7 separate regions of the Homo sapiens genome follow, and all the other regions are linked to region 6. The links are contacts of gene promoters, found by promoter capture Hi-C in blood cells and fetal thymus (Javierre and others, 2016). All regions are on one chromosome and are shown on one strand. Each heading gives the region's core, a stretch centred on a gene start or on the middle of the fragment in contact. The rest is flanking DNA. Distances are from core to core; before and after follow the strand shown. Region 1 holds the start of LOC124907851 (a long non-coding RNA gene). Region 2 has its middle 11 kb from the start of ATOH8. Region 3 has its middle 51 kb from the start of MIR6071. Region 4 overlaps KDM3A (lysine demethylase 3A). Region 5 overlaps KDM3A (lysine demethylase 3A). Region 6 holds the start of POLR1A (RNA polymerase I subunit A). Region 7 overlaps KDM3A (lysine demethylase 3A).

The links. The method cuts DNA at HindIII sites, captures the fragments that hold promoters and counts their contacts. A CHiCAGO score of 5 or more calls a contact.
Region 1: a contact is called between a fragment that was not itself captured here and the fragment with the promoter of POLR1A in region 6, in 8 of 17 cell types (erythroblasts, megakaryocytes, neutrophils and 5 more). The highest score is 12.3, in erythroblasts.
Region 2: a contact is called between a fragment that was not itself captured here and the fragment with the promoter of POLR1A in region 6, in 12 of 17 cell types (fetal thymus, endothelial precursors, megakaryocytes and 9 more). The highest score is 11.4, in fetal thymus.
Region 3: a contact is called between a fragment that was not itself captured here and the fragment with the promoter of POLR1A in region 6, in 14 of 17 cell types (fetal thymus, M2 macrophages, naive B cells and 11 more). The highest score is 14.9, in fetal thymus.
Region 4: a fragment that was not itself captured here is called in contact with the fragment with the promoter of POLR1A in region 6 in 1 of 17 cell types (megakaryocytes); the score reaches 6.5 in megakaryocytes.
Region 5: a contact is called between a fragment that was not itself captured here and the fragment with the promoter of POLR1A in region 6, in 1 of 17 cell types (megakaryocytes). The highest score is 6.0, in megakaryocytes.
Region 7: a contact is called between a fragment that was not itself captured here and the fragment with the promoter of POLR1A in region 6, in 4 of 17 cell types (fetal thymus, naive CD4 T cells, naive CD8 T cells and 1 more). The highest score is 7.8, in fetal thymus.

The regions. Positions count from the first base shown.
Region 1 is chr2:85,713,751-85,717,550 of GRCh38, forward strand. It overlaps LOC124907851 (a long non-coding RNA gene), which reads left to right and starts at 1,511. Exons shown (of 2, transcript XR_007087118.1): 1 at 1,511-1,551; 2 at 2,947-3,557. The HindIII fragment of the contact is 1,019 bases long and covers 1,338-2,356 here.
Region 2 is chr2:85,741,270-85,745,176 of GRCh38, forward strand. No RefSeq gene overlaps it. Among named protein-coding and RNA genes, the nearest start is that of ATOH8, 11 kb to the right of the region's middle. The HindIII fragment of the contact is 1,868 bases long and covers 1,147-3,014 here.
Region 3 is chr2:85,832,312-85,836,359 of GRCh38, forward strand. No RefSeq gene overlaps it. Among named protein-coding and RNA genes, the nearest start is that of MIR6071, 51 kb to the left of the region's middle. The HindIII fragment of the contact is 8,623 bases long and covers 1-4,048 here.
Region 4 is chr2:86,484,150-86,488,213 of GRCh38, forward strand. KDM3A (lysine demethylase 3A) reads left to right here. Exons shown (of 26, transcript NM_018433.6): 19 at 1-9; 20 at 793-880; 21 at 1,580-1,710. Among named protein-coding and RNA genes, the nearest start is that of KDM3A, 45 kb to the left of the region's middle. The HindIII fragment of the contact is 2,517 bases long and covers 491-3,007 here.
Region 5 is chr2:86,465,559-86,469,085 of GRCh38, forward strand. KDM3A (lysine demethylase 3A) reads left to right here. Exons shown (of 26, transcript NM_018433.6): 10 at 814-1,325. Among named protein-coding and RNA genes, the nearest start is that of KDM3A, 26 kb to the left of the region's middle. The HindIII fragment of the contact is 6,796 bases long and covers 1-3,527 here.
Region 6 is chr2:86,103,715-86,107,437 of GRCh38, forward strand. It overlaps POLR1A (RNA polymerase I subunit A), which reads right to left and starts at 2,172. Exons shown (of 34, transcript NM_015425.6): 1 at 1,986-2,172. The coding sequence starts at 2,062. It overlaps PTCD3 (pentatricopeptide repeat domain 3), which reads left to right and starts at 2,521. Exons shown (of 24, transcript NM_017952.6): 1 at 2,521-2,637. The coding sequence starts at 2,534. RefSeq lists enhancers at 1,692-1,781, 1,982-2,191, 2,572-2,831. The HindIII fragment of the contact is 4,349 bases long and covers 1-2,900 here.
Region 7 is chr2:86,447,287-86,451,344 of GRCh38, forward strand. It overlaps KDM3A (lysine demethylase 3A), which reads left to right. Exons shown (of 26, transcript NM_018433.6): 3 at 2,521-2,676; 4 at 3,817-3,927. Among named protein-coding and RNA genes, the nearest start is that of KDM3A, 7.9 kb to the left of the region's middle. The HindIII fragment of the contact is 4,402 bases long and covers 608-4,058 here.

The DNA of each region.
Region 1 (3,800 bases), core at 597-3,096, 390 kb before region 6:
AAACCCCTCTAAATATCTCTGTTAGGTTAATACTAGGCAAAATGGTCTCCTAGAGAAATCAGCCCCCTAACATAATTAACTGTAAATTAAAACCTCTACCCTCTGCAGTGTGAGTGCTCTCAAATGCATATACCTCAAAGGAAAAGAGCAAATCAGTACTCAGCCATGGGCAGTGTTATTTTATTTGTTGAAACGATTCCACATGTGAAGGGCCACTCAAGCTAGAGTGGTGGTTCTCAACCTTGGCTGGGCCTTGGAGTCACGGGAGCTGTTGCACCTGCTGGTACTTGGTCCCGACCCTGGACAAGCTGATGAACTGCAGTGTGGCTTGGACACAGGGAGTTTTCGAAGCTCCACAAGTGATCCCAGTGTGCTGCCAGGGCAGGGCACCACTGGGACAGAGGAGGCTACAAGGCCTGGAAGAAGCACCTGGAGGAGCTGATGTGTGGTGGCTATACCTGGGGCTGAGAGCCAACGAGATCTGCTGGGAAGGTGGGGGCGTGGAGGAAAAGCTGCCTGAGCTCTGGGGTCCAGGCCTAGGGTCTTGAGTGCTGGAACATTGAGACACATGCTAACTGAAAATGAACCCTTAGCAGTCATCCAAGTCAATCCTGTCATTTTGCAGATGGGGAAATAGATCTAGAGAGGTGAAGGGATATGCCCAAGTCCCCCAGTGTTTAGAAGGAAAATTAAACATAGGTAGGCTGAGTGCGGTGGCTCACCCCTGTAAGCCTAGCACTTTGGGAGGCCGAGGCAGGCGGATCCCTTGAGCCCTGGAGTTCAAGACCAGCCTGGCCAACGTGGTGAAACCCTGTCTCTACAAAAAAAATACAAAAATTAGCTGGGCGTGGTGGCATGTGCCTGTAGTCCTAGCTACTCAAGAGGCTGAGGTGGGAGGATCACTTGAGCCGGGGAGGTCGAGACTGCAGTGAGCCATGATCACACCACTGCACCCCAGCCTGAGTGACAGAGTGAGACCCTGTCTCAAAAAACCAAAACCAAACCAAAACAAAACAAAACAAAACAAAACTAGGTATTTTGATTCCTTGTCCTGTATGGTAAGTCCTTACTTAACATTGTCAATAGGCTCCTGGAAACTGCAACTTCAAGTGAAATGGCATACAGTGGGTCCTCAAATAGTGTCATTTCATTCACTATCATTTTGTTATAACGTTAATAAGAAAAAAAATTCGTTTCACTATACGTTCTTTTGCTTCAAGTTGCAATTTCCAAGAACCTATGGACAGCGTTAAGTAAGAACTTCCTGTACTGTTCGCATTGTGGTGGTTTTAAACTATGCCCGAAAATTCTTTGATACTCCTCCCTTCAAAAGGTGAAGCTTAATTCCCCTCCCCTTGAGTTTGGTCTGGACTTAGTGACTCATTTCTTTTTAAATGTTTGATTGTTTATTTATTTATTTATTTTAGAGTCAGTGTCTTGGTCTGTCACCCGGGCTGGAGTGCAGTGGTGCAATCATAGCTCGCTGCAGCCTCGACCTCCTAGGTTTAAGTGATCCTCCTGCCTCAGCCTCCTGAGCAGCTGGGACTACAGGTATGCACCACGCTGTCTGGTTAATTTTAAAATTTTTTGTGGAGATGAAATCTTGCTATGCTGCCCAGGCTGGTCTTGAACTCCCGACCTCAAGCAATTCTCCTGCCTCGGCCTCCCAAGTTGCTTGGATTACAGGTGTGAGCCATTGTGTCTGGCCAGTGACTCACTTCTGAAGACAGAATACAGGGGAAGTGATGGTATGTGACTTCAGAGATCAGATCATAAATGGCATTGTAGCTTCTGCCTTGTTTTCTCTCTTGTGTCATTCACTCTGGGGAAAGTCAGCTGACACTCGTGAGGATGCTCAAGTGGCCTTGTGGAGAGGCCCACGTGGTGATGGGCTGAGGCCTCTCTCCAGCAGCCTCAAGTGGGCACCATCTTGGAAGCAGACCCTTTCAACCCAGGCAAGCCTTTGGAGGACTGTAGTCCTGGCTGACGTCTTGACTGCAATCTCATGGGAATCCCTGAGCCAGAACCATTCAACTAAGTCACTCTTAATTATAATTCTTGACCTGCAGAAACAGAGAAAAAAAATAAAAGTTTATTGTTTTAGGCAGCTAAGTTTTGGGGCAGTTTGTTACACAGCAATTGATAATGAATACACATACCACCCTAAAATATAATCTTTCAGAGTCAATGACATCCACAAACTCGAGTATAGTGGGAGAATATGAATGAAAAGAATAGAAGGTGTAGCAACATATTCCTTCTAAGGAAGAGTAAGGCTGGAGGGGTAGGAAAATTACTCTCCACTAATCCTTTCTGTTTATGGAGACTGGTGGGGAATGGAGAAAAGAAAGATGCAAGCTTCAAGGCGCCTGGCAGTTTTTCACTCCGCTGATGCTTACAGCCTAGAGTAGATGGCTTTTGTCTTAGCAGAGCTCAGGAAGCAGACCTGATACTGAGGAATGGTGGAGAAACAGGACTGAGCAACTTTTAAGAATCATGTGTCTAATGTGTAATAATATCATTTGTGTTGGTGTGTGACAAAACTCTCCTGGTAACTTCTAAGCCTCCTGTGAAGTCCACTGCACACACAGAGGCCTTGAGGAGCCCTAAAAAGGGGGTCAGGTTTCCAGCATGGGTCCATGCTGAACTGGGGGTGGGGATTGAGTAAGGAGAGGCCCATGTGAGGCTGGGGGCTGAGTGGAAGCTGGAGCTCAGAGCCAGAGAGAGCAGGGAGCTCCTTATGCAGCCGCATGGGTCAGGGGAGGTCAGGACACAGAAGCCATTCTGCATCTTGACAGCCTCAACCTGAATCCTGGGTGTGGGGGAAGAAGTGACAGGCATGGGAGTTCTTAGAAGTCGGCCATGCACCTGCATCTGATGAAGCGCCACGTCCGTTCTTACTAACCCCTGAGAACAATCACTTCTGCTTCCCTTCTGCCTTCCAAGTCCTGTGCAAGATCCTCTTGTTGGCAAACTCTAACCTGGGAGCATGAGGAAGAGGACTGCGGGGAACGGTTTCCAGCCCTACGTAGACATGGTGGTGGTGACGTGTTGACACATGGGGGCTCCGCTTCGGACTTCGCAATGAATAAGGCCAGGGAACTGCAGCTGATGGCTGGGTCATCCGAGAGACCTTCAATCTTTACTTTCTATAATGACAGAGCAAACCATTCTATTTGCTATTTACTTTCCTGATGGTATCTTCAAGAAACTTCTGGAAATAGGTCTTTGTGTCAACCAGAAACTGCTGGTCAGAGGATAAGTTCTGGAGTTTTCTTGTAGAGCATGGAGACTGCAGTTAATAATAACATATCATATACTTGAAGATTGCTGAGAGTAGATTCTAAACATTATTATTTATTTATTTTCTTAGTTTTTTCGCCCCACTTCAATAAGCTAGTCGAAGACAGTAGATTTTAAATGTTCTCACCACAAAAAATGGTTAAGTATGTGGGATGATAAATATGTTTGATTTACTCATTCCACAGTGTGTACGTATATCAAAGTATCATGTTGTAAACTATAAATAAATATCATTTCTTATTTGTCAATTAAAAGTGTAACACACACATATGCATGCACACTATATATAAATACATCTTTTAAAACTGCTGGTCAGGAATCAGACGGCCTCCACGGGTGGTGTCACAGGGCTGCCCCCCGCAGCCTCCCTCATGGTTCTGAGCCCTCCTCAGTCACTCTTTTGTTTAATGCTTTAATCCCTGCTTTAAGTAGGAAGCTTCCCTTCAGCTCATGGGAGGCCCTTATCTTACCGGTGGTCAAATAGATATGGGAAACAT
Region 2 (3,907 bases), core at 831-3,330, 360 kb before region 6:
CTTCGGTACTGCCAGCTCCCTTAAAGGTGCCAGGCTCTTCCCTGTATGGAGAAGCTGGCACCATAGAGAAGCGACCCAGCCACACAGGTCCTGGTGCCAGCTCTGAGCTGCCTGCTCTCGTCCTGTCTCACGGCTTCCCAAGCTGACGGACCTGCCTGGCTTCTCATGTGACTGCCCACTCACTCCTGGCCTGATGCTTGACAACACGTCTGGGACTCTCCTGGGCCAAGGACCCTACATCTCAGCCCAGGTCCCGCATGCTCTCTCAGTCCTGGGATCCCTGTCTCCTTTCCCATGCCACCTCCCAGCATCCTTGTTCCTGGGCAGGAGGTGCTTTGCAGCCCTGCTCCTCAGCTCTGTGACCCAGCCAGATTGGTGGCCAACTGCCCTCACTCTGGGGTCAGCTAACCACCTCTCTGTCCTCCTCCTCACCCTGCCACCTCACCTAGTCCCTTCCACCTCCATGGACTTCCCCTGGGGCCTCCCTCCCCACATCACAACCCTCCTTTGCTGAGATGAGCCCCACATCCCATGAGCTCATCCTTTCTTAGCAATGCTCCTCGGACCACCTCTTCCCCATGGACTGAGCCCCAGCTGGGGGCTGACCTTCGGCATCAAACGCCTGGCCCTTGACTCACAGCTCCCCTGTTCTGACACCCGGCCTTTGCCTGACCCCATGGGCAGGCCTGGGCGCCAGCCTTGCCCCCCCTGGCTGGCCCGTCCCCCTGCCGCCTGAGCCTGGGTTATGACATCTTTCCACTGAGCAGCTCTTATTTTGAGAAGGCAAACACGGCGGCGCCCACAGGCATGTGCACACGCCAGCACACGCACACACATACCCTGTCCATCCCCGGACTCCTCGCGCACTGGGGTTAAAATGTGGCTGGCCATGTTTATTTTTCTTCCTCTAATTTCCCCTTTGGAACAAACAACAGTCCTGTAACCCCGATCACCCTCCCCTTTCAGATCTGTGGTCTCCCACCACCCTTCTCCCGGGTCCTCCCCTCGCAGCTGTGAATGAGAACAGAGTAAGTCTTTTAGCGGGAGGCAGCAGCCTGAATGAATTGATCACAGCCTCAAAGCCAGCAGGATGGGGGGATGGTGAGCATGTGTGTTTGCTTCTTAAACGCTATTTGTACACCCTGAAGCTTCTATTTTTCCATGTGACTTGGAGCAAATGCCTTCCCCCAGCCCTCCATCCTTTTAAAATTTATTTCATTTCATTTTTGGTCCAATGCATTTTGTTTTCTGTTTTCTACAAGGGAGCCCGAATCAGGGCCTCAGAAAAACAAGGCCGAGCTGCCAACTGGAAATGTTTGCTCTGGGGGCGAGTTCGGAGGCTGGCGTCAGGCGGGGCAAGATCCGTGCCAGTGGAATGTGATTTGGGGAGGAAGCTGCAGGTCACTCAATCGCTGGCAGCCAGCCCGGGAGCAACTGGATGCTTTCTGGGCTGTGTGTGTGTGTGTGTGTGTGTGTGTGTGTGTGTGTGTGTGTGTATGTAGAGTTTTTTCCCTCATGCAAACAGAGCTCTGGAGACATGGAGACAGAAGCATTAGGAACAAATGAGACAGGGGGTTGGAAAATCAGGGGATCTGGGGGAATAAGGTGGGCTGGGGCGGGGAGAGGGTGCCAGGAGCTTGAGCAGCCATGTTATTCAGCATGTGCTGTGTGTTCAGCTCTGAGCTGGGAGCCTGCAGGAGCAAGGAGGGCTGCAAACCACATCAGCCCCCAGTGATCTGTGGGTTCTTTGGAGAAACAAGGCTTTCAGTATAGAACACTGGCAGGTGAGCCTGGAAGTTCCCAAGAGCGGAGTGTGTTCCTCTGGGCTGAGTGTGTCCAGGGAAGGCTTCCTGAAGGAGGTGTGGTAGGATCAGAGCCCTGAAGCATGTATGGTACTGCACTGAGAGGAGAGGAGAGACGTTCAAGGTGCAGTTATTAGCTGCCATCTGCCAAGCCCTGTGCTCAGCCCTTTACATTGATAATCTCCCTTTAATCCTCACAACAACCCTATGAGGGCCAGTAATCTTTCTATCCTAGCTTTGCAAACAAGGAAACTGAGGCCCGGTGAGATCAAGGAACTCAGCCAAACTCCCAGCTTGTAGGTGGTGAGCCAAGGGTCAATTCGGGACCATCCTTGTCCAAAGCCTGGGCTCTGTCCACCACCGCTGAGGGCCACTTTTCACTTAGCCGAGTTCCTTGTGGAAGGGCTTGTTTTCCCTGCCCCACTCAAAAGAGGATTGTTGAATTCAAGATGGGGAATGTTGGGGACCTAAGATGCCAGGGTAGACTTCCAGGGGGCAGTGTGACAAACGCTCCGAAGCCAGAGAGATAAACTACCTTGTTTCCTTGTTCCCAGGAGGTAGTGGCTGGGCCCCTTGGCAGTCCCCCCAGGGTTCATATCAGGTCAGCCCTCTCCTGCAGCCTACCCCCCTTACCAATGACCCACGCCACCCTCACACTCCCCCACACACCCCCATCACATGTCAAGTTCTTTGCCACCCCAAAGTGAAGGTCCGCCCACTTCCAGGAGTCCTCAGAAGTTATCTGTGTTGTTCTGAGTCACGCACGAAACTCAGTGAACCAGACAGAATGGATTTTCCCCAGGCAGCCACCACAACCCTGGAGTTGGAATCAGGAGACCTGAGCCAACTGAGTGGGGGGCAATTGGTTAAAGTCAACAGTCTACCTCCTGTGTGATATCAAGTGAGCCATGTCCATTCTTGAGCCTCAGTTTCCTCAGTTTTAAAATGAGGAGTGGCCTGAATGGTTTTTGAGCTGTCACAGATGGAAGGAGAGGCTCTAAGGCAGTGGAACTATCTGCAGGTGTTGGAAGGGTCAGTCAGGAAGACTTTCTCGAGGTGTTCAGCCCACTGCAGAAGGATTCTCTGGCAGAGGAAGCAGGATCTGTCACGGGCTCAAAAGGGGAAAGGAAAGAAGCCAGGCTGGAAGGGCAGGAGGAGATGATGGTGAGGGAGGTAGAGTCCTGGCCAGGGTGGCTAGAACACCTTGACTCAAGCTTGTCTGGTAGTAATCAGACGGCCAGTGATCCATCTGATTAGAACAACTTTGTTGACCACTTGGGAGTTCTATTGTCTTGAGCTCAGATAGTTGGTTAGCCTCCCCCATGAACTCTTTTTGGCCAAACTGAGCACTAACGTTAGGTAGACACTGGCTTGGGGCTTACCTGGGCCTGATACATCACCTACATTGGTTGAACTGACCAGTCGATTCCACGAGACAACTAATTTTACCGATTATTTCCAGGAAACAGGCAGTTTATAGCATTAACTAAAATCAGCAGTTGTTCTGGCTTTTTGGAGACAGTCTTTGGATCTGACATCTTCAGTCCTCAGAGACATTCAGGCTACCTGCCACTGACCAACAGTAGTCAGATTCCTGAGAAGGCTGGGAAAAACCCTACCAACAACGGGCGTCAGGACTCAGTCTCTCTCATCAAAAAAAAAAAAAAAAAAAAAAAAAGGCAGGATCGAACTAGACCAGGAGTGGCAAACACATGGTGTGAATCCTGCCACTCCTTTTCTTTCATCCATGGCAGACATTGCTAATCAATTATAGCACTCATTCCCAAAGGGACCCAGATGCAGCCTCAGGATCCTTTTCAACACAGAGCTTCAGGCAGCCTCTACCAATCAATTAGATTTGGCATGCGTGATAAAAAGCATTTGTCCTCTGGACTAGATGATCTCCAAGCCTCCCTCCAGCTGTGCTGATCTAGAATTGCAACTGATTAGGCATCTTGAGGACTCAGCCTGGGGACCACCAGGTCTACAGCTGTCCCTGGGGCATCCAGGTCTGTGGGGCTGCCCTCGAGCTGGTGCCTTATTAATTTTCCTCACTGCTAATAAATGTGCATTGCGTCAGCTCTGTTCTGCCCCCTCATGTTCTC
Region 3 (4,048 bases), core at 390-2,889, 270 kb before region 6:
TGAGGCCAGCCTGCACAGCATGGTGAGACTCTGTCTCTACACAAAATAATTTGCTGGGCACAGCAGTGCCTGTAGTCCCAGCTACTTGGGAGGCTGAGGGAGGAGGATTGCTTGAGCCCAAGCATTCGAGCCTGCAGTGAGCTATGATAGTTTTCAAGATACTAGAAAAGTAAAAGAAAAGAAACTAAAAAAAGGAAAAGAAGAAAAAACTCACTAATGTGCAAAAAGAAAATATTTGAAGGTTTAAAACCCACTGGTAAAATTAAATACATGGATAAACCCAGTATTACTTTAATACTGTAATTGTGGTATATAATCCACATCATAACTATGGTATACAAATCTATCTATCTAGTATAAAGCCCCAAATACAAATCTATCAAAAACAATAATAGTTATAGCAACCTATTAAGAGATAGGGAATATCGGCCAGGTGTGGTGGCTCACGCCTGTAATCGCAGCACTTTGGGAGGCCGAGGTGGGCAGATTACGAGATCAGGAGATCGAGACCATCCTGGCTAACATGGTGAAACCCCATCTCTACTAAAAATCCCAAAAATTAGCTGGGCGTGGTGGCAGGCACCTGTAGTCCCAGCTACTTAGGAGGCTGAGCCAGAAGAATGGTGAGAACCCAGGAGTTGGAGCTTGCAGTGAGCCAAGATTGCACCACTGCACTCTGGCCTGGGTGACAGAGCAAGACTCTGTCTCAAAAAAAAAAATTAAAAAAAAAAAGGGAGATAGGGAATATAAAGATATATAAATTGAGATAATATAAAGCCAAAATGTGGGGAGGATGAAGTTAAAGTGTAGAGGTTTTTTCAGTTTTTTGTTTTTACATTTTTCTTTGTTTCTATTTTCTGTGTGATCTATGCTGCCATCTCTTTAAAATAACTTGTTGTATCTGTAAGATTTTTTTGGTAAGCCTGATGGTAACCACAATGCAAAAATCTATAATAGATTCACTAAAAATAAAAAGCAATGCGTTAAAACATACTATCAGAGAAAATCACTTACCACAAAGGAAGACAGTAAGAAAGGAAGAGAGGAGTTACAAAACAACCAGAAAACAAGCAACAAAATGGCAGTAGTAAGTCCTTACCTATCAACAAAAACACTGAATGTAAATGGACTCAGTTCTCCAATTAAAAGACATAGAATGGCTAAATGGATAAAGAAATAAGACCTGACTATATGCTGCCTACAAGAAGATCATTTCACTTCTAACGTGAAGGGATGGAAAAAGATATTCTATGTAATTGGAAACCAAAAAAGAGCAGGAGTAAGTAGCTGATATAAGTAAGTACTTACATCAGATAAAACAGACTACAGATCAAAGACTGTAAAAAGAGACAAAGAAGATCACTAATGATAAAGGGAATAATTCAGCAGGAGGAAATATGTATCAATATCTATGTACTGAACAACAGAGCTCTCAAGTATATAATGCGAACATTAACAAATCTAAAGGGAGAGATAGACTGCAATACAATAATAGTAGGGGACTTCAACATGCTACTATATGTGATGGACAGGTCATCCAGACAGAAAATCAAGAAACACTGGAGTTAAACTACACACCAGATCAAATTAGGCCTGACACTTACAGAACATTTTACCCAACTGCTGCAGAATACACATTTTCTTCATCAGCACATGGAACATTCTCCAAAACAGACTGTATATTAGGCCACAAAACAAGTCTCAACAAATGCAAAAAAGTAGAAATCATATCAAGTATATTTTCTGATCACAATGGAATAAAACTAGAAATAACAAGGGGGGCCTTGGGAAATACACAAACACATGGAAATTAACACACTCCTGAATGACCTAGGGCCAATAAGGAAATTAAGAAAATTTTAAAAATTTCTGGAAACAAATGAAAATGGAAAATGACATATCAAAATGTGTAGAATACAACAAAAATAGTACTAAGAGGGAATTTTATAGCAATAAATGCCTGTAACAAAAAAGTAGAAAGACTTCAAATAAACAACCTAATGATGTACCTCAAAAAACTAGAAAAGAACAAACTAAACTCAAAATTAGAAGAAAAGATATAAAATTCAGAGCAGCAATAAATGGAGACTAAAAAATAAAGAAAATCAATGAAATGAAAAGGTTTTTTTTTTTTGGCAAAAACTAAATTGACAAACCTTTAGCTAGATTAACTAAGAGAGAAGACTCAAATAAATAAAATTGTAAATGAAACAGGAGACATAACAACTGATGCCACAGACATACAAAAAATCATTAGAAGCTGTTATGAACAACTACATGCCAACAAGTTGGAAAACCTAGAACAAATGGGCAAATTCCTGGACACATACAACCTACCAAGATTGAAACCATGAAGAAATAGAAAATTTCAACAAACCACTAATGAGTCATGAGATTGAAGCCATAATAAAATGTCTCCCATCAAAGAAAAGTCTAGGACCTGATTGCATTATTGCTGAATTCTACCAAACATTTAAAGAAGAATGATGACCAATTCCATTCAAATGCTTCATAAAAATTGAAGAGAAGGGAATATTTCCAAACTCATTCTATAAGGCTTGCATTACCCTGATACCAAACCAGACAAAGACACAACCAAAAAAGAGAACTATAGGCCAATATCACTGATGAACATAGATGCAAAAATCCTCAAAAAAATACTAGCAAATGGAATTCAACAACACATTAAAAAGATAATTCATCATGATCAAATAGGATTCATCCTAGGGATGCAAGGATGGTTCAACATACAAATCAATAAACACAATATATCGCATTAAGAGAACCAAGAACAAGAACGATATGATTATTTCAATAGATGCTGAAAAAGCATTCAATAAATTAAACATGCCTTTATAAGAAAAAAACCTTCAACAAACTAGGTATAGAAGAAACATACTTCAAAATAATAAAGGTCATTAGCTATGAAAAACTCCTAGCTAATATAATACTGATAGGGAAAAACTGAAACCCTTTTCTTTAAAATCCGGAACCAGACAAAGATGCCCACTTTCACCACTTTTATTTGACCTACTACTCGAAGTTTCAGGGCAATAAGGCAAGAGAAAGAAATAAAGGGCATCAAAGAAAGAAGTTTAAATTAGTCTTGTTTGCAGATGACATGATATTATACTTAGAAAAACCTAAAGACTCCACCAAACAACTGTTGGAACTGATAAGTGAATTCAGTAAAGTTGCAGCATTCAAAATCAACATACAAAAATCAATAGCATTTACATATCCCAAGAACAACAATCTGAAAAAGAAATCAAGAAATCAATTTCATTTATGGTAGCTACAAAGAATACAAAATACCTAGGAATCAATTTAACCAAAGATGTGAAAGATCTATCCAAAGACAACTATAAAACACTAATGAAAGAAACTGAAGAGGGCACCCCAAAATGGAAAGATATTTCACGCTCATGGACCCGATGACATTCTTCACAGAAATAGAAAAAATAATTCCAAAATTTACATGGAACCACAAAAGACCCCAAATAGCCAAAGCAATCCTGAGCAAAAAGAACAAAGCTATAGGAATCACACTACCTGACTTCAAAATATACTACAAAGCTATAGTAACCAAAACATCATGGTACTGGCATGCAAAGACATCAGACCAATGGAACAGAATAGAGAACCCAGACCCAGATATAAATCCATGCGTTTATAGCCAACTCATTTTTGACAAAGGCACCAAGAACATACAATGGGGAAAGGAGAGAGTCTCTTCAATAAATGATGCTGGGAAAACTGGATAGTTATATGCAAAAGAATAAAACTGAACCTCTATCTCTCACCATATACAAAAACCAAAGCAAATGGATTAAAGATTTAAATCTAAGACCTAAAACTATGAAACACTCCAGGACATTGGTCTGGGCAAAAATATTTTGTGTAAGAGCTCAAAAGCACAGGCAACCAAAGCAAAAACAGACAAATAGAATTACATCAAGCTAAAAACATTCTGTGCAGTAAAGGAAACAATCAACAAGTCAAGAGACAATCCATGGAATGGGAGAAGATACTTGTGAACTATCCATCT
Region 4 (4,064 bases), core at 499-2,998, 380 kb after region 6:
ATGTTCCAAGTATGTATGAAAGATCTTTTAAGGGGGTTGGGGATGTGAAAGGAGGGGACACAGGAATGGCAGGAGTCTGAGACCCATCAGTGGCAGCCGCAGCATTTTCCAGGATTTTGGAGTTTAAAATTAACGTCTCTCCTCCCCTTCCTTGTTACAATGTTTATGCTTTTAAACACTGAGGCATTATTACCTGTTCTGTTGGTCTTTGTTGTCCCTGGACAGAACATCAGATAGGGTCAGTCTCTCTCTCTGAGCAGAATAAGTAATTTCTGTTGCATGCTGGCCTCAGAAAAATGGGTTTACTAAACACCTGTGACCCTTGATGGTTGACGTGCATTGCTGTTGGTTAGTTGGGATGCTGCTCACTTCTTCTGGAACACTGTAGAGGAGGAGCAGATTGGATCGATGACAGCTGTTGAAATACCACCTACATGCAGTGGGCAAAAGGGAGCGGCTGAATCTCCCAAGAATGAGTAGCAGCTTAATAAGCTTCTAGGAAAGACAAGGCCCTGACACAGATCCATTAGTTGGTGATCTTTATTTTGCTGCACCTTGCTGCCTCCTGGGTACAAATGGATTTTTTTACACTGCAGAAATAAAATGGTGGATAGTTGGTAGGAGGGGAAAATTAAGGAAAAGTAATATTTGTATACTAAATTTATCAGGTTATGAAAATTTTGCAGAGACATATTTTATTTGTATTGTTGAGGCATAAAATGCTAATTTGTCATTTATTTTGGTCTGTTTCTGAATTATAAATAGTAATAGTTCATTCTGTTTACCTTTCAGATCGTTTGAAAAATGAAAAAGAACCAATGGTGTTGAAACTTAAGGACTGGCCACCAGGAGAAGATTTTAGAGATATGATGCCTTCCAGGTATGATTATGAAGGTGGGGAGAGATGATTCTGTCCTTCACTTGGTAGGATAAATTCTTTTTTGAGGTAGTGAGAAAACAGTTTTCAAGAAAATAACAAAAGTTCTGTAATTATACTGCCACTGATTTTTCATTTCTAGTCTGTAGTCATTGGAGGCATGTTTATTTTTAGATGAGATGAAGAAGTGATTGGCTTTTAGGCCTGGCTGACTAATGGAACACCACAGATTTTCCATGGTAGGCCCTGCTAGAGAAGAGGCTCACTTTTTCTTACAAGGCTGATTTGGAGGCAGTTGTGGAATCTGACCTGTCAGGGTCAGGACAATGTAGTCACAGCACTGAGTTAGACAAGAAGACATCTACTGGGTAGATCTATTTTCCTGACTGAGCTTGAAACTTTGAAAAGGGTGTCACAACTAATCAATGATATATCTCTAAGAATAACTTTTTGTCTAGAATTTATTGCTGAGATCTTTTGTCTGAACGGTTACAGCTGATTTTGACACATTGGTGTGTTGTAGGAGAGAGAGAAGACATCTTTGTAACTGCTGTACTTCTCATCTTAAATATTTGATGGCTGTCAGTCTGCATGATCACAGATGGATTTGTTCCTTTTGGTGTAGAAGGAACAAAACAGGTTACACAATAATGAATTAGAAAAGCAATCTAACTTTGCAAATTCCTGGTTCTGTTGTTCTAGGTTTGATGATCTGATGGCCAACATTCCACTGCCCGAGTACACAAGGCGAGATGGCAAACTGAATTTGGCCTCTAGGCTGCCAAACTACTTTGTTCGGCCAGATCTGGGCCCCAAGATGTATAATGCTTATGGTAAGGAGGAGATGGCTAACTTTAAAATGGAAATAAAACAATTCAAAATGTTTGGAAAATTGATTTTGTGGGAGGGAGAGGTGGAAAACACCCATAATCCTAATGCGTAATACAGCCACAGCTTTCATTTTTACATATTTCCTTTCGTTCCCTGGCCACATGTTTGTGTGTTTCTTTTCATAGTTGCAGTTGTAGGGCATATGCAATTTTGTGTTTTTCCCTTTACTGTACCTAATTTTACATTGTAAAATCTTTACATGTTACTTAATAGTCTTTAGATGACTTTTAATGGTGTGTGATACATCATTGAGAGAATGTACTTTTATTAGTGATTTCAGTGTTCGGACATTTAGGTCAATCTGCTGGCATTCTAGCTGTCTTAACATCTGCTACAATTAAATGCAGTGTTCTGTGTTGTTGAGTAGAAGTTAGTTACTTAGGATTCAAAGTACCCTTTGAGTTGGACTTTTATTCTTTTGACATGACTCAATACTCACTGTCTAACAAGGAGGATGCCTGGGATAAAGATTGGTTTCTCCATTTACCAGAGCTTTCTTTCATCATCATTATAACTGAGATCTTCGTCAGTTTTACACATGGCCTTTAATTAGGGCTGGATTCGAGTTGGCCATTTTGAAGGAAGTATGTATTGTTGAATGCAGTTCTAGTTGTTTGAATATTTCAGTGAATTTTATTTACTCATTTTTACTATTTGGCCCCTACTTTTCCAGTCCTCCTGGAAATTACTTATTTCTTCCTGCCATAATTACTTCCATGTCATTTTCCATTTCTAGCCTTAGACCTGTGGGTGTCTTTCTCAAAAAGGACAAGGTCTGTTGTTGTCTTCGCTATGTTCTCCAAAGACTGTTGGGGGAGGGAAGGGAAGGAGGGGCAAGGACTCCAGCCCCACAATTCTGTTACGGTTGAGTCAGCTCAGGGAACCACTAGGAGTGTAGTTGGGGACTGTTGTGACAGGGGAGTGTTTTTGTGTGCAAGCTCCCAGCAGTCTCCATGCCCAAGATAGTTCTGCCAGGGTAGGGGTACCAGAGAAATTGTGTGTGGGTGAGAAGACCCGGTGGGCACAAGGCCTCTTGCCTGTTCCTCACTTCTCAGGTCTCTGTTGGTGAGTCCTCCATGTGCTGTGGGTCTGCAGTGTGCTCTCTCGAGGTCCTGTCCCTCGAGCCCCTCAGAGACTGATTAAAGCAGCTGCATGGTTGGGATCTTGGGCAAACTTAAGTATATAAGAGCATTTTTCCAATAAATTGTATAGTTTATCCATGCTTTATAGAAATCCTGAAGCTTTAAAGGTGGGTATCTGAGAAATTTTCAAAAGAATTGCTTGCGTGGTTTAACTAGCTTGGCAGCGGGTCTTTCCCCCTAGACACTAATAGATGGCAGTGTTACTCTATAAAAGCTTTTCCTATGACAAAATGGTTCCCATCCAGAAGCAAGCATTCAGAAGGATGAAAATAATGATGTGTTCATTTTCAAACACCTTATATCTTATTGTAAACATCATTAAAGAGTGGTCTTTTCAAAGGTTGTGTGATTGAGCTGTGACTCTTCCATGAGAGTAAGTGCAAAGGCTCTTTGGAGAGATCATATAATCCAGCCTCTCTTCAGTTCCTGCAACACCCCCCATTTTGCAAATGAGGACCAGGACTTGCGGACAGTAGAAGGGGCATTGACTTGTTCAGGATCTCCAAGGGGCAGCTAGTGGCAGGTCTGAAACTAGTACTTAGATCTCCTGATTTCCAAGCTAGAGCCCATTTCCCTACTCTTCCCCCACTCTTAACTCCCCATCACCCAACAGCCCCTACTGTTTCAGCTTTTTTTCCCCCTTAAAAGTCCATGGTGTTTTGTTTCAGGATGTTTTGTTGTCTAGCACTCCTTTCCCTTTGACCATTATGTTTTTACAATTTTGGTTTCATCTCAGTTTACCATGGTTTAGAGTCTGGTTTTATCAATGTACAGTTACCCATGACTGGGATCCAGTGGACTTTGGGCCAGTGGCTGGGCAGCAGTTATTTCCTTGCTCGTTTTGCACTGTGGCACTGGCTGGATCAGCAGGCAGCCAGTCCTGCTGAGGCTTTGCCTCCTAGTCTCCTTTCCTTACTTTTCTTGCCAGCTCCATCCTCTTCCTATTGCCCTTAGTCTAACCACCATCTTCAAGTTTGTGTTTATCGTTTGCTTATATTTACAATTTTAACATATATATTTGTATTCCTGCACAATATTCTTTCAGTTTTTAGCCTGCTTTTGAACTTCATATAAATAGAATCAGATTTTTTATATTCATCCATGCTGTCATATATCATCCATGTGTTCATTTCATTCATTTTATTTCTATTACA
Region 5 (3,527 bases), core at 408-2,907, 360 kb after region 6:
CACCACACCAGGCTAATTTTTAATTTTTTTGTAGAGATGGGGGACTTGCTATTTTGCCCAGTCTGGTCATGAACTCCTGGCCTCTAGCAGTCCTCTCATCTTGGCCTCCCAGAATCCTGGGATTACAGGTGTGAGCCCTTGTGCCTTGCCCATTGTTCGTTTTTAATTAGATTTTGTGTGAATATCTTTGAAGGGATTTCTAACATTTTTTATATACGTATATATTTTAGAATTTTTATCTTGACACATTGACCTTTACTAGAGGTTCAATTTTTGACTCTTGGCAAGTAGCAAGAATGGAGTTTTATCTTTAAAATTCAAACATAATCTTTACTATAGAAGAAAGAGTTTTAGCAGAGGTTTCTCTGAAATTTACACACAAAAAAAAAAAAAAAAAAAGAAGAAAGAAAACTTTCGGAATTGCCCCTACACAGACTTCTGGTTTTGATACTTATAAACCAGCTTATCTGCTGAGTATATTCTTTGGTTTCATACAATATTTTGTTTTGAGGGAAAGCTAAGGTTCATTGTGCTGTGAGAAGTAGAACTAACGTAAGAAGTTAAAGATTTCTGAGAACGTGCAGACATAATTTAGGGTTGTATTTTTCTGAGTGTTTATGATTTTTGCAGAACCATTGACTGATGACTTTTAACTCTAGCTCACAGAAATCTATCCTAAATTCTGTAACATATGAGAAATTTTCTTTTTTCTTTCATACTCGTTACCTTAGGGAACCAAACAGTTTGTTTGGGGAAGATAATGGAGAGATAAAAAGAGGCCTGGATGCTAGCTTTCTATATTATATTTTTCAGATGTCATAAACAAAGTTTACCAGAGGAAATTTCTTCCTGTCTAAATACAAAGTCTGAAGCTCTGAGAACAAAACCAGATGTCTGCAAAGCAGGGTTGCTCTCAAAGTCCTCTCAGATTGGAACTGGAGACTTGAAAATTCTGACTGAGCCAAAAGGCAGCTGTACTCAGCCTAAGACAAACACTGATCAGGAAAACAGATTGGAGTCTGTTCCACAAGCATTGACTGGCCTTCCTAAGGAGTGCTTACCTACAAAGGCTTCTTCTAAGGCAGAATTGGAAATTGCCAATCCTCCTGAACTGCAGAAGCACCTAGAACATGCACCTTCCCCATCGGATGTTTCAAATGCACCAGAAGTGAAAGCAGGTGTCAATAGTGATAGCCCTAATAACTGTTCAGGAAAAAAGGTAGAACCTTCAGCTTTAGCTTGCCGATCACAGAATTTAAAGGAATCTTCAGTAAAAGTAGATAATGAAAGCTGTTGTTCAAGAAGCAACAATAAAATCCAGAATGGTGAGTGTTTCTCAATATCTTTATTGGTAGAAGGTAAGAAATGGTAGATATATATATCTCTTTCTTGTCCTATGAGAAACTATGTGAAAATGACTTTGTAGAAATAGTTTATACAGTCAGAAAAGTTGAAAGAAGGTATAATTCCCAAATCTCAGAAACGATTACTGTTAATATTTTGGTGTACCTGGTTTCATGTATATAGAAATACAGATAAACTGTATTACACAAATGGGTTCATGCCAATAATTTTACCCTGTGAATTAGTGTAGGTGTCTATTAGTATTTTAAAGCAAGGATTCCATTATGTTCATTTACCATAGGATTTAACTGGTTCCTATTAGGTGGGTAATTAGGTGGTTCCCAATTCTTAGGTTAAGAAAATTTTGAAACAAAATCTAAAGTAATCTGGTGTTTACTTTATTTCAGCTTGTCACTGATCTTTCTGTTACATCCAGGTTGGAGTAGGAAGAGGTGATCTGTGACAGGTAGCTAAGATTTGAAATTTTAGAAAAGATGCAGAATTGTATCATTTCTGGAAAAAGGACTTGGGTTAAAGATGTTACGGATAGGGCTGAACTACCAGGAAGAGTCTCTTTGCTTAAGGGGAGGTCCTGCTGCACCCACAATTTAAAACTACTCTTCTTATGGGGAAATTGGTACGTTGTACTTGATGCTACTTATATGAAGTTTGAGGATGCATTATAATGGTGGTAGTTATCAGAAGCTCTGTTACTAGAGTTAGAAGAACAAAATGTTTTCAGCATGTCAAAAGGTTTAGAGCTATTAGAATTTAAAGATGCCTTTTGATCACTGTTAGCTATGTGGGAAATTGATATGGATTTTGTTAATGTTTTAGGCTGGGCATAGTAGCTAACACCTGTAATCCTAATACTTTGGGAGACCACTGTGGGAGGATTGCTTCAGACCAGGAGTTTGAGACCAGCCTGGGCAACATAGTGAGACCCCATCTCCACAAAAAATTTTTTTAAAAATCAGCCAGGCATGGTGGGGCACACCTGTTATTCCTAGCTACTGGAGAAGCTGAGGCAGGGGGGTTGCTTGACCCCAGGAGTTGGAGGCTGCGGTGAGTTATGATTGTACCACTGTACTCTAGCCTGGGCAACAGAGTGAGAGCTTGGCTCAAAAAACAAACAAACGAAAACAACCTACGAAAACAATTTATTTATTTGGATCAGTAAAAATGAATATATCTACACTATCTTTTTAACTGCAGGCCTCTGTGAAATTAGAGGGCAAGATGGCTGGATTTGACTTGCGAATCTTTTTAGTATAGCATTGGAAGAATAGAAAGAACTTTCTTTGCCTAGCAATACTTCTAACCTAGCTTCTTCATTGAGGCTTAAGTTAATATAGCTGTTAATTTGCATAAAATTAATTGCATAAGATTATCCTGTTCTCAGAAATTAGGTAACACTCAAAAGAAAGTACATATTCATAACCATATCCTTGTTCTATTTGTTGTTTTTGAATCATCAGCTCTCACACACAGCTAGTTTTTGAAGCAAATTTAATATTATGTGACGAAACAGTAAAGATTCTAGTGCAATAAGCACATGATAGATACACAAGTGAGTTACGGAGTCCAGCTTTGTCTCATTTAATATGTTATGTAGCTATTCCCCATCTAATGGATTTTAAAAGAAGTGAAAAACTTACATCCTGGAGTAGCACATCCTGCTATCTACTGTGACTTTTTTTTTTTGGTTGAGGTGTGAGAGTGTGATCAGAAGCCTACCGGGACTTCTGAGCTGTGTCCACTAGTACTGCATGTTAGTACAGAAGGCTTGGAAAACTTTTCTGCTCCTTTCTTCCACTTGGGGTCTAGAAAACAAAAGCAAACTGGAGTCAAACAGCTGCCTTTTTTTCCGTTCAGATAGATACGTGGCTCCTCGGAAGTGGGCGTTGCATTTTTCTCTTGACTTGGCTTTGAATTCAGAGAATCACTGATGGTAGCACCTGTTGCTCTCCTCAGTAAAGAGCTAGATTTAGACAGTTCAGCTTTCTTGTTTCTAGATATTTCCTCTTGTGAGCCAGGATAGAACAGATAAGATAACCTTCTTGCCTGTGATCTGTGGAAGCCTGGCTCAACTCAAAGGATGTCTTTCAATATCTGAGTAATTAAAATTACATCCTTGAACTACTAATCTCTTTATTTTCTCTCCTTTCTTACTTTACCTTCTC
Region 6 (3,723 bases), core at 922-3,421:
GTGACACATATAAGAAGCTCAAGGATAGTGGAGGAAGACAAATATACATAAGCACAAAAAGTCACTAAAGCACCATGACAGACAACTGTATCATGTGCAAAATGACCTCACAAAACAAGGGAGGTGAACTGAGCTTTCAGGTGTGTATGTTGGGTAGGGGACAGAGGGAAGTACCTCCTTTTGGCTGAAAGGACACTGCATGCAGAGGGAATAGCTTAAAGAAAGGCCCAGATGTTGAAATATGATGGCGGTTTCTGGAATATGCAGGTGGTTTAATAGGGCTGAAGAAGGGATGATGTTATAGCTAAAATCAGCATTGGTCTGATCATGGGAGACTTTGCAGGCTATGCTAAGAAAATATACTTTATCTGAGGGAAATGGAGAACATTTGGAGGGTTTTAAGGGTGACAGTAGCATGACTACATTTGCACTTTGCAAGAATAATTTTGACAGCAGTGTGGAGCATGCACTTGAGAGGTGTAAGGGGAGGGTGGAAGGAAAAGACAATTCAAATATGAGATAAGGGCCAGAGGCAACACAGTAGCAATTGGGAGAAAAAGGAGACTAAGAACAAATAGACATGTAGGTGACACAAAGTAAGAGCCCAATAAATAAGTTATATGTCAGGAGAGATCTAGAATAATTTTCCAGTTTCTAGTGACTATTTTGCACTACGTACACCATTTTGGAGGGGTAAGTAACCCCTCCCTTTGAAGAGGGATGCCGTGTTGAGTTTTTTTTTTTTTTTTTTTGAGACAGAGTATTGCTCTGTCGCCAGGCTGGAGTGCAGTGGCACAATCTCGGCTCACTGCAACCTCCGCCTCCTGGGTTCAAGCGATTCTCCTGCCTCAGCCTCCCGAGTAACTGGGACTACAGGTGCCCGCCACCACGCCCAGCTAATTTTTGTATTTTTAGTAGAGACGGGGTTTCACCATGTTGGCCAGGGATGGTCTCGATCTCCCGACCTCGTGATCCGCCGGCCTCGGCCTCCCAAAGTGCTGGGATTACAGGCGTGAGCCACCGTGCCCGGCCATGTTGAGTTTCTGATATGCATTTAGGCCATGTTGAGTTTTTGATATGCATTTAAGATCTCTGTGTGAAATTCAATTAAAGATGTACAGACAGCTGAACAAATGGGTCTGAAAATCAGGGAAATAAATTTGCGTTGGGGATTTAAATTTGAGACTATAAATCATGAAAGTGGTGAGATTGTCTAGGGACAATATTTACCATGAAGAAAACATTACTAGAATAGAATCTTGAAGAACATCAACATTTAAGGAGTAAAATGAGGTACAGACCTTGCTCACCAATGTGTCATTAACGCCTAGCTTGGTGCCTGGAAAAAACTGGATGCTCAATAAATGTTTGTGAGGTTATAGATCGATAGAGGAAGAGAGGGAGGTAGAAGTATTTGTCATAAAAATAGGAGAACTTGAAGACAAATAAGGTTCTGGAAGAAAGGAAAGTTTCAAGAGAGTGCATTGGAGAATGTCAAATGCTACCTTGATCAAAATGAAGACTAAAGAGAGTTCCCTTGATTTAACAACCAGACCGAGAATATAGCAGGGTCCTAGCAAAGAGAAGTTAACGCCTGAACTGACACTTGAAGGACAATCATTTTACAAACAAGAGGAAACTTACTACGTGCCTAATTAACCATGTCAGGTACACTATGGTTAATTCCACAAATGCTTGTTAGTTAACGAGGAGACTGGCAGATGATAACGCTGCAGACCAGGACCCTCCCCACCCTTATATTCCCCTACCTCAGCGCAAACTCTTTCCCCCAGCACCACCGGCCTCTTATCCAGGCAGTCCACGCCGGCCCAGGAACGTTCCCAGAACTACGGCTCCCAGCAGGACAAGCGCCAGACAAGCCTGGACTCAAGAGGATAGACTGGGCAAAAGCGCTTCTGGGAATCGTAGTTTAGGGCGCCGACCTCAAGATCCAGGCTGGGCACGCTACCCGACCAACTCCTTACTTGAGCTCTTCAGCCGAATACATCCCGAAGGAAATGCCCTGCAGCCGCCGCCAGGGCATGTTCTTGGAGATCAACATCCTCCAGGTCCGTTTTGAATTCCGACACCCCAAGAGACGTTCCACTCACCACCTGACTATTCTTAATTCAACCTCAAGCCCGGAGTCACCACGCGATTCAACGTGCGCTTGCGCGCGGAAGCGGTCGCAGGAACGACATTTACGTGGATGAGATCACTTCTACATGGGGGGGGAACAAATAGTTGTACGACTCTCTGCTCGCTCTTTTGTTTTGAAAACAATCAAAGATATATAAGACATCAAAATAATCATTTAGGAAAATTCCTCCGAGGCAAATCGGGTGTATAGAGCTTTTAGCTTCCGTGACGAAGTCTTTCAAACCATGAGCTTGCAACCTCCCATTTTATGATTGCTTTCGTCTTCTTCCGCTTCAGCCAATAGCGGAGCTGTTCCCTGCTCCCCGCCCACTGCGCCCCACCTTCCTGAAGGTCGAGGCACGCTTTCCCAACATGCTCTGCAGAGAAATCAAAGATGGCGGTTGTATCTGCTGTTCGCTGGCTGGGCCTCCGCAGCAGGCTTGGCCAGCCGCTGACGGGTCGGCGGGCGGGTTTGTGTGAACAGGCACGCAGCTGCAGGTAAGAGACGCTTAGGGTATCCGCGAAGAAGACCGCGGAGTCACCTTAGTCCTATGTTTCCCAGCTGGCTGTGGAAGTAGGCACGATGAAATGGTTTGCTCATGCGCGCCCTTAACGGTCGCGTGCCCTTAAGACCAGGTACGCGGAGGTGGCCCTTTGAAATAGGATTCGCAACGCATTTATTCATTAGAGAAATACTTATTGGTTGCTTGCAATATTCTGTAGTTAACACCATCCGCAAAGCTAGGACCCTGCTCTCATGAAGCTTGCGTTCCAGTGAGTGTGGCTATTAGCAACACTACCCCAAATTAAAAATTATCCGCCATTACTCATTTTAACCCAATCAGGAGGAGCGAGGAGAACGTACAAGATCTTCCCAAATAAAAGGCAGTCTCTGGTCGCCACCGTGGGGACTTTGGCTAAAGAAGTTATCAGGTTTTCGTAAAAGCAGAAAAGTCTAAAAGATCTGACTATGCCCTTTTGATCTGTGATAGTTATAGCTTGGAACATGTATGACCTATCTGTGTAATTTTTTTTTCACTCAGTACAAACAGTGGCATTGTGGGAATATGAGAGGCAGTAATTTGTAGTGAAAACTTGCTAAAAGCCTAATTTTAGGTTTAGTGTTTGCCATTCACTTAATTGGATGATAATAGACAGATTTCCTCATCTGCAGACTAGAGTTGGTAATAACCATCCGAAAAGTTTGTGAGGTATAAGTGGGGTATGTAATTTACAATATGTTTTTATATGTACTCTCCCTTAGTTCCCCTCAAGAAAGAGAAACCACTCCATCTGATACTGCAGAAACCTTTGTGCTGCCATTCAATGCCAGTCCTCCGTTTCCTGGTAGCCATCGTTAGCATTTTTCTACTCATTTTCTTTGCCTGAAGCAGAATCTCTTCCTCAGCATCCGTTCTCAAAATAACTGTGATCTCTGTTTTAAGGTCATGAGAAACAAATAGTGTGACTTGAAAGAGTTGATCTCAGAAACTTGAAAGAGTTGATCTCTTTCTGAAATGTCCTTAACGTAGAGGGGTATTCTTGTTTTAAATGATACCTGAAACCAGATACTACTGGAGGAAG
Region 7 (4,058 bases), core at 1,559-4,058, 340 kb after region 6:
ACTTTTTTTTTTTTTTTTCAAATCACTCAAAAATTGGGATATGGAAAGGGGCCCTGTCTGTCTTTTGGTTTAGGGTTATCTTAAGCTTTAGATAGTGATCTGGTAAGAACTGTGATGTTGCTTAAGTTTTGGGAAACCACTTAAGATCTTAATCCTTCTTAATTCTGCACTTTTTTTTTTTTTTGCTGAATAGATATTAGATAATTGTGTTGAAGATCCTCTTTCCCCTGCTCCTAACTTAATAAGTGATACCTTGATAAGATTTGAATTAACCATGGAGGTATTAAAACTACCTAGTTGTCTTGCCAGACACTTTACATACACTGTCTTTTAAAATATGCCTAACTATGCAATGAGAGGTGTCACTTTTTTCATTTTGAAAAACATTGAGAGAACTTAGATTTTCTAAGTGAGGGTTCTTAACCTGGGGTGCAAGTTAGTTGGTTTCCTTTGTAATCATAAGTATTTTATTTTATACATGTAAAATCATTCTAAGAGAGATTCAGTGTAGCTGGGAATTCAAGGTCTCTGAATCTGGATCTAGAATTTGTGTGTGCTCATTCCTCTTATACCACATTGCTGATAAATAAGAAAACTGTCTACCTAAAGCTTGGTTGGGTTTGAGGTTGATGTGAATATGGAGCAGAAAGACTAGCCAATTTAGGGGAGATGTCAGAGCATATGGATTCTGTGGCTAGGAAACAGAAAGGAAGATGGGCAGTCTCTGCCCACCTTTATGAAAGACCATTTGGTTGATTACAGTGATAGAAAACATATAACCAGGGAGAAACGTATGTGGGCCTTGCCACGTGGGTGTTCACATTTATTCTGATTTGGAAAGTATTCAGTAATAACTGCAAAGTTAAAAGCCTAAAATACCAAGAAGATATGTAGTTTCCTAGGTAAAGTCGCCTGGGAGGTTAGGGATGCATGTTTTGTTGGCTGAGAAGGGTAGGATAGATCTTAGATTTCATTTATTTTTATCCTGTAGACTGGAGAAGGTTTGGGATTGGGGCTAATGTGGGAATTTAGTGCCTTCTAAGCAGGTGAGAGAAACAAGATAGGAACCCAATGCAGAGGGAAATTTATTCATTAATCTATGCTAACAAGTATTTGAGTACCAATTAGATTCCATATACTAGTGATATACAGTTGTAAGCAAAAGCAGAGACAGACTTTGACCTATTAGAATTTAATTGTCAATCAGTTAACAAATAAATAATGCAAAGTGTGGATAAGAGCTAAGACGGAAAAGTACAAAACTTTGAGTACAGTTAGTATGGGGACCTCTCTTGGGAGAGAGAGGCACTTTGGTAAGGGAAGGTTTGTTTGAGGAAAGGATATATGAATTGTGCTCTGATAGATGAAGTTAACTAGTTAATAAACTGAAGGTTGAAAAGGGATGTATGAGTGATGTCTGTAAAATGATGAACAGATTTGATAGATGATAGATGTATTAACTAATTCCTGGAAACCAAAATGAGAGACCTCTTTAGTAAGAGGAGGAATTTTAAATCAAATAAAAACAGTGATTTTTACACTGAATATCGAGGGAGTTTATTGTCATTGGTAGAATACAAAAAGCATTGAAGAGGACCTAGAGTAAGTTAAGGGGTAGCATATTTATAATAGGTTAAGGAAGCTGGAGTGTTTCAATGCTTTTATATGACTTTGAGTTTTATGGTTTTGTAAACAATTCCTACTCATAGATCACTCCCAGAAGCCCACTTTTAGACTGAATTTTCTTAATGTCTTTAAATATGTATACAGGTTTTAAGAGTTGTAGCCTTAGGGTTAAAAGTATTATGCAGGTCAGAAGCAGAAAACATTACAATTACTTGGAAAACAATATTTCAAGGTAGTTTAACTTTCATATAAGAAGCTAGAGATAGTTCTGAAAAACTTTGTGGTCATTTTGTTAATCACTCGTTTCTATGTTATCCAACAAGTAGTTTAAGACTCCAAATTCTGTGGTAAATTTCCTAGCTTATTCAACTGAAAGGGATATTGAAGATGTGCTGTATATTAGGCCTTGTGCTAAATTTACTCATTCCAGAGGAATTCAAAAGGAGGTGGTGGATTGTGGTGATGGGGGGTCATCTTAAGCCCACTTATATTGTCAATAGACAATTACAGTGCAGTTTTATTAAGTACATCTTTTGAGTTTCAAATTTTTGTCTTGCAATTCCAAAAGCTCAGATGTCTAATTAATGTATGTAAACGCCTGATAAGTAGGGGTTGTTTGGTTTCTGGGCTTCCCAGGGGTTTACTTTAGGGACACAGACTGGCCCAAAAAGCCTTGACTTCTGCATCCCGAAGTGAGTTGGGAGCCAAAGCCTGGTTCATGTGTGATTATGTATTGTGGGCTGTGACAGGAAGTGAGGGAGCTGGAAGGGGGAAAGCACATCCAGATAAAGGATTCAAATAGAATAATGAAGGTATAGTTCAGCTGGGGCATTTGTAATGCTTATTTTAATAAATTGAATCTGCTTCCCCCACCCCCCAATTTTGTCTGTCTAGGTGTGTGTGGAATTTGATGGGGAATCTTGGAGGAAAAGAAGATGGATAGAAGTCTACAGCCTTCTAAGGAGAGCATTTTTAGTAGAACATAATTTGGTTTTAGCTGAACGAAAGTCACCTGAAATTTCTGAACGAATTGTACAGTGGCCTGCAATAGTGAGTAAAACTTGGGCTTATTGAACTCCTGAGAAGAGGGCATTTTATCCATTGTGGGTACAAAAGGAATATGTAAATGTAATGCCAGAAAGTCAGAAAAGCTCCCAGGATCTCCTGCCAGCCCTTTTAAGAACTCTGCACTTCTGAGCGAGTCCCTTGACTTTGTTGGACCTCGTGTTCACTTGACAAATAGGGATGGAGGTAGTAGTGGGAATGTCTAGGTCAGAAGGCAGGAACTAGCAGTCATATGCAAACATATAGATCTGTTTGGTTTGGCCCTTGCAGTACTTTCAAAACATTTGAATTAATTGCCTACTTTAAAAAATGTGGAGAATACATCTGAAAATCTAGATTTCCATTGTCTCTTAAAAAATCTACAAGATAATGGCAACACTGGAGCCTTATGGCAGCAATGGGCTAGAGCCAAATAGTAGCTGTTGCCTTGCTCTCTGTAGGGTTTCCAGTCTTGATCTTATGATCTTTAAGGTTCCCTCTGGATTATTATATTTTTTGGCTTTAAAGATACTATAAGTCAGTATATGATTGTGCTATATCCACATTGTAAAGTGTGGTGCAAAGAGAAGAGTGAGCGCTGTCTGGAGAGGGCACTTTAGTCTTTATGGGACTTGAGCTGGTGCTTCAAGGAGGGAAGGTTGGATCTGGATAGTTTGGAAAGGCCGGGAGAATGGTTGAAGGCTGATCAGATTGTGATCTGATTTTGCCCATGAGTGAAAAGAGCTGCTATGGAGATTCTTGAGAGATGAGGGTTGTGGTTAAAGTTTTATTTTGCTCTTTGTATTTTTTTTTCCAGCTGTTTAGAACTGGTTAAAAACACAGGCCTGTCTCCCCAGAGAAGTGTGCATACAAACAGTTTTTGCATAAATTTTTGGGACACCATGAATCTGTGAACCCAGTCTTGAATATTAATAACTCCCAAATGTCTATCTGGTTTAAATTATTGGGTTTGAATAAAAATTGTATTATCTATGGCTGCATAAATAGTTGTTATGAGATAACTTGCAGTAAATAAAAAAAATTAGTGGCTTTATCACTTTCTCTGTGTGTGGAAAATTGCCAGTTCCTATTTTCAGAATTATGCTGACAGCAGTTATGATGCTAAAGTGTTTTCTTTTGTTTTAGACGTACAAACCTCTGTTGGACAAAGCTGGTTTGGGATCCATAACTTCTGTTCGCTTTCTGGGAGATCAACAAAGAGTATTTCTTTCTAAAGACCTTTTGAAGCCTATACAGGTAAAACATAGAAACAGTAGTAAACATTAGAAACAGAAATACGAACTCCTTTAACATGAGAAGTAAAGTACAGTTGAACCTTAAATAGTGTGGGTATTATGGATGCCTACTCCTTGCACAGTAAAACATCT